2 separate regions of the Homo sapiens genome follow, and region 2 is linked to region 1. The links are contacts of gene promoters, found by promoter capture Hi-C in blood cells and fetal thymus (Javierre and others, 2016). All regions are on one chromosome and are shown on one strand. The core of a region is centred on a gene start or on the middle of the fragment in contact, and the rest is flanking DNA. Distances in the headings are between cores, read along the strand shown. Region 1 holds the start of MYRF-AS1 (MYRF antisense RNA 1). Region 2 overlaps LINC02733 (long intergenic non-protein coding RNA 2733).

Region 1 (2,729 bases), core at 1-2,500:
GGAATCCGGGGGCTGAGCTGGGCTTCGTGATGGGGGTGGCACTGTGGCCCGTGTCAGCCTGTCTCTGTCTGTCCCTGGTGCACCCAGGGAGTAAGTAGATGGGAGGGGTGGCCAGGCACAGGGTTTCCTGAGCCCAGGCAGGGGAGGAAATGGTAGTAGGGGGTCTGACTCATCCCCATGTCCCCAGCACCCAGTGCAGGGCAGGGGTGGGGGGTGGGCAGGAAGTGCTCTCCGGGTCAATGGTGACAACAATGGGTATGTGAACAGAGGCGGCGGGGGTGGGGGACGCACCCCAGAAAGCACCTCTCTGGAGGGCCTGGGGTCAGTGCAGGGGTGAGAAACAGGCAGTTACCAACCCTTTGGCCTCAGGGACTCTCCTGAGACTGGAAGGCTGGACAGAGTGCTCCTTGGGGTCTTAAGTAGAGCCAAGGAGGGCATTTGAGGGCAGAATGGCCTTTTCCCTGGGGGCCTGACTCCCCAATTACCAACTCCCAAGGGGTTACAGACTGGAGGGCCCTGGCAGCAGAGGCTGCTGGGTAACAGCCCAGCAGAGCTGCTCATTGGCTGCCACCCTTGGACTTTGCCCTCCCTGATAAGGAACTGGGAGCAGAAATTATTAACTGAATCATTAACTGGGTGGCCCCGCCCTACCCAGGCAGCCTGCCTTACCTTCCCACCTTCCTCTTCACGGACCTAGCACCTTCCTGGGCCTCAGTTTCTCTCATTGCCTTGGGTGCTGGAGTATGTGGGGCCTCCTCTCCTATCTCCAGGCCTTCAGCCCCGGCTGCCACGGGGTGTGGGTACCTCTTGGTTGGGTCTCGGGGTAGGATGATGTAATGGTTCTGTGCATTCGCCAGCGAGGGCAGCTGGGGTCTGTTCCTAGCTCTCCTGCTTACCCACAGTGCTTCTCTTGGCCGTATCAGGGCACCGCTGTGCCTCCGCTTTCTCATCTGTAAAACGGGAGTGCAGTTGTAATGGCAGGGCCTCCGTCCCAGGGTTTCTGGGGTGATTAGGTAAGATTGTGCCTGGCCTGGTGAACACTCCATTGGTCCATGGCAGGTGTTCTGCGCCCTACCTTGAAGATTACTGGTCCCCAGGGTAGGTCAGTGCCCCTAAGCTTAGGGGGCTTGTTGAGCATGTTCTGTGGTTCTGTGTGCAAGGCCTGAACCATGACAGCTCTGGCCCAGCGTGGCCTGGTCCTGGTCCCTGGCACATCCAGTGGGGCCCGCCCCACCTCCCCCTCTGAGATTTGGGTTCTGTTCTTGCTGCCAGCAAGGAGGAGGGGCTTGGCTGTATTGTGACTTCATCTGCTGCACCCAGGCTCTTTGCACGTTGTCTTCCTGGAGTCCTGGGGTGCAGTGGAAGCGTGGGTGACGGCCTCCCATTTCTGAGGGGGACTGTGAGGCAGGACAGGAAGGCGATGATGTGTCAGGCTCCCTCAAGGTGGCCACAACAGAGCTGGGACTGGAGCCTGGGTCCCAGCTCTGTGCCAGCCTGGGATGGGCAGGGAAGGGGCCTCTCCTCCTGACATGCTGAGGGGTGGCTCCAGCACGGGTGGCCACGCCAGGTGATGTCCGTGCAGCCTCCTTGACCTCTCTAGACCTCAGAGCCCTCACTCACATGGTCAAGGTTGGGTGATGTTAGCAGTTAGATCCCACGAGTGCCAAGGCCTGGAGTGAGGGGGGGAGGGGCAAAGCCCCTGGGTGGGGAGTACAGTTGGGTCCGGAGCCCCCTGCCGGCCTAGAGTATGGAGGGGGCTCCCGGACATTCTGTCCTCCCTGTGCCCCAGGTCGCATCAGTGAGGGAAGTTCTCCCTCCAGCTGACCGGGGTCCGTGCAGCCACCGGAGTGCACAACCACAGCCTCTGTCTCTCCTTTGTGGAGTTTGAGGATCCTATCTCCCTCCGGCCTCCCTCACTCCCCTCTCTTCTCCCTCTATGGCTGGGGCAAGGGGATCCCCATCCCCTGCCCTGCTAGCTTGGAGGAGGGAAGTTGTGCCTGTGACACTGAGTTCACTCAGTGGGGCCTGGCTCCAGCCGGAGCTGCTTAGGGAGGGTCTGACAGCAGGCGGGGAGGGGGCTTGGAGGGAAGAAGAGGAGGTGGGAGCTCTTCCTGGGTGGCCACTAACCTAACCCATGCATGTGACGCTGTGCCTGTGGGCCTGGGCCTGTCGTCGGGTCAGTGAGTGTTTGTGTACATGCGTGTCCTGGCATATACACCTGTGAAGTGTGCTGAGGTGTGAACATGCACAGGCATGCTCGTACCTCAGGGCTTTTGCACCGGCTGTCCCCGCCATCTGGAACCTTCTAGAATGCTAGGCATTTTGCTGCTCTCGTCATCTGACTCTGCTCCCTAGAATGTCAGCTCCATGTGGGCAAGGCTTTTGTCCCTTTTGCTCACTGCTGTAGCCCCAAAGCTGGGCACTATGCTTGCCTGGCACATAACAGGTGCTCAGTAAATAACTGCTGAATGAATGAAGGCACACGGATGAACGCTGGTGTGCGCATGTGTGTGGGTATATGTGTGGGGCATGCCACTGTGTGTCAGTACTGTGTATGTGTGAGTAGGGGGCAGGTGGTACGTGATCATGCGCATGTCAGTGGATACCTGACTGCAGGGTGTGCCCTTACATATATGTGTGTGTGTTGGCAGTGTGCCTGCGTGGGGCCACGCCGGTGTGTAGGCACAGATGGGCACAGGTGACCCTGGTGGAGACCTGTGTCCACCCCA
Region 2 (2,729 bases), core at 152-2,651, 310 kb after region 1:
GGGCTAGCTCCTAGACAAAAAGGCAGGAAAATGATTACTGCCTTGGGGAGAAAAAGGAGCAGGTAAAAGGAGGGCAGGAGAAGGTCAGGGAGAGAGATTCTGTTTTCTGAGGCTGGGTCAGAGGCCTAAAACACCCCAATATTATCACAAAAGACTATGACAAGGGCTATGGGAGTTATGAGCCAGAAACCATGGGTGAGAACCAATACATATGTATCATAATGTCACACCAACTAACCAGCTCTGAAGTTTTCACTTTTCCCTGGAGCTTTCTATTTCTTCTGCTATCTTTTTTCCTTTTTTTTTTTTTTTTTTTTTTTTTGAGTTTCACTCTTGTTGCCCAGGCTGGAGTGCAATGGCCTGGTCTTGGCTCACCACAACCTCTGCCTTCTGGGTTCAAGTGATTCTCCTCCTCAGCCTCCGGAGTACCTGGGATTACAGGCACCTGCCACCACGCCTGGCTAATTTTGTATTTTTAGTAGAGATGGGGTTTCTCCATGTTGGTCAAGCTGGTCTCAAACTCCCAACCTCAGAAGATCCACCCACCTCGGCCTCCCAAAGTGCTGGGATTACAGGCATGAGCCACAGCGCCCAGCCTATTTCTTCTGCTTTCTTGTGGGCTATTTCTCCCCCTTGATCTTCTCTTCCAATGTTCCTTCCTCCTTTGCCTGGGAAGGCCCTGATGAACACCACCAGACTTGGATACCCACCTACCGATGGAGCAAATGAAGAGAGGATCAAGGACAAAGCCCTTTAACGTCCCTCCATCTTGGTGCCTCCCTCACCAGCACTCAGACCAGAAGTATCAGGCAGAGAAGAAGCCTTAAAAACTCTTTCCACAGTGTCCAGCCTTGGAGGAATTGGAGAACAGCAGCTAAAGCCTGAATTTGAGGGATAAAGATAAAGTATGGAGAAGGCCGAAATTAAACCCAAATCTGTATCAACTCAGGGCTTTCACAGGCAGCAAAGACCCCTAGATCTATCATGAATCTGAGTCATTGCCTTGTAGCCCCTATCTAGCAGTTGATCTGTTGATATTTCCATTCTTCATTCAATTTCAACTTACAAGGGGACTTCTCTCACACCAGCACTCCACAAACTGTTGTGGGTGATGCCAAGACACCAAACGACAACATCCAGCCCTTAGTGAGCTGGTGGTGGGAATGTGAGAAGCACATGGAAGATACATGCTGGTCTCTATGGTTAGTTCAGCATCCAACTGCACACACAGTTGATGCATGCCAGAGGAGTTCAAAGGAAGGTATATTTAGGGACTGTATTAGTGTCCTCTGGGTGCCGTCACAAAGTGCCACAAGCTGGGTGGCTTAAAACAGCAGAGATTTAGGCCGGGCGTGGTGGCTCACACCTGTAATCCCAGCACTTTGGGAGGCCGAGGTGGGTGGATCACCTGAGGTTGGGAGATCGAGACCAGCCTGACCAACACGGAGAAACCCCGTCTCTACTAAAAATACAAAAATTAGCTGGGCATGGTGGCGGGTGCCTGTAATCTGAACTACTCGGGAGGCTGAGGCAGGAGAATTGCTTGAACCTGGGAGGCACAGGTTGTGGTGAGCTGAGATTGCGCCACTGCACTCCAGCCTGGGCAACAAGAGCAAAACTTCATCTCAAAACAAACAAACAAACAAACAAACAAACAAAACAGCACAGATTTATTCTCTCATAGCTTTGAAGGTGAAAAGTCCAAAATTTCCAGGCAAGACTCCTTCCTCAATTAGGAGTCTTCAGCTGTTGGTTGTTGCCAGCTATCCATACCATTCCTTGGCTTTGTAACTGCATCACCCTGATTCTGTCTTCATCTTACATGGCTGTGTTCTTTCTGTGTGTGTCTCTGCCTCTGTGACCAAATTTCTCTCTTCTTACAAAGAAGAAGTTATAGCCCACCTGAATCCAGTATTACCTTATTTTTACTTGGTTACATCTGTAAAGATCCTATTTCTTTTTTTATTTTAACTCAGCTAAAAAAGATCACATTTCCAGGCTGGGCGTGGTGGCTCATGCCTGTAATCCCAACACTACGGGAAGCCAAGGTGGCAGGATCATTTGAGCCCAGGAGTTCGAGACCAGCGTGGGCAACATGGCGAAAGTCTGTCTCTACAAAATAATACAAAAATTAGCCAGGAGTGGTGGTGCGTGCCTATAGTTGCAGCTACTTGGGAAGCTGGAGCAGGAGGATCTCTTGAATCTGGGAGATGGAGAGTGCAGTGAGCCAAGGTTTCGCCACTGCACTCCAGCCTGGGCGACAGAGTGAGTCCCTGTCTCAAAAAAAACTAAAACATAAAAGGAAAGAAAAGATCTTATTTTTTTTAATTTTTATATTTTTTGAGACAGCATCTCGCTCTGTCGCCCAGGCTGGAGTGCAATGGCATGATCTCGGCTCACTGCAACCTCCACCTCCTGGGTTCAAGCGATTCTCCTGCCTCAGCCTCCCGAGTAGCTGGGACTACAGGCACCCGCCACCACGCCCAGCTAATTTTTATACTTTTAATAGAGACGGGGTTTCATCATGTTGGCCAGGATGGTCTCAATCTCTTGACCTTGTGATCCACCCGCCTTGGCCTCCCAAAGTGCTGGGATTACAGGCGTGAGCCACCGCGCCCAGCCAGAAAAGATCTTATTTTTAAATAAAATCATGTTCACAGGGACTGGGGTTAGGACTTGAATATATCTTTTGAGGGGACACAATGCGACCTATACCAGGTAGATAAAAC

The links. The method cuts DNA at HindIII sites, captures the fragments that hold promoters and counts their contacts. A CHiCAGO score of 5 or more calls a contact.
Region 2: a fragment that was not itself captured here is called in contact with the fragment with the promoter of MYRF-AS1 in region 1 in 1 of 17 cell types (neutrophils); the score reaches 5.4 in neutrophils.

What each region holds. Positions count from the first base shown.
Region 1 is chr11:61,756,414-61,759,142 of GRCh38, forward strand. It overlaps MYRF-AS1 (MYRF antisense RNA 1), which reads right to left and starts at 1,251. Exons shown (of 4, transcript NR_026882.1): 1 at 1,076-1,251; 2 at 670-950. The region is part of intron 1 of MYRF (myelin regulatory factor); the gene reads left to right. RefSeq lists enhancers at 1-838, 1-347, 348-991, 432-481, 992-1,635. The HindIII fragment of the contact is 8,901 bases long and covers 1,116-2,729 here.
Region 2 is chr11:62,064,489-62,067,217 of GRCh38, forward strand. The region is part of intron 1 of LINC02733 (long intergenic non-protein coding RNA 2733); the gene reads right to left. Among named protein-coding and RNA genes, the nearest start is that of LINC02733, 16 kb to the right of the region's middle. The HindIII fragment of the contact is 8,726 bases long and covers 1-2,729 here.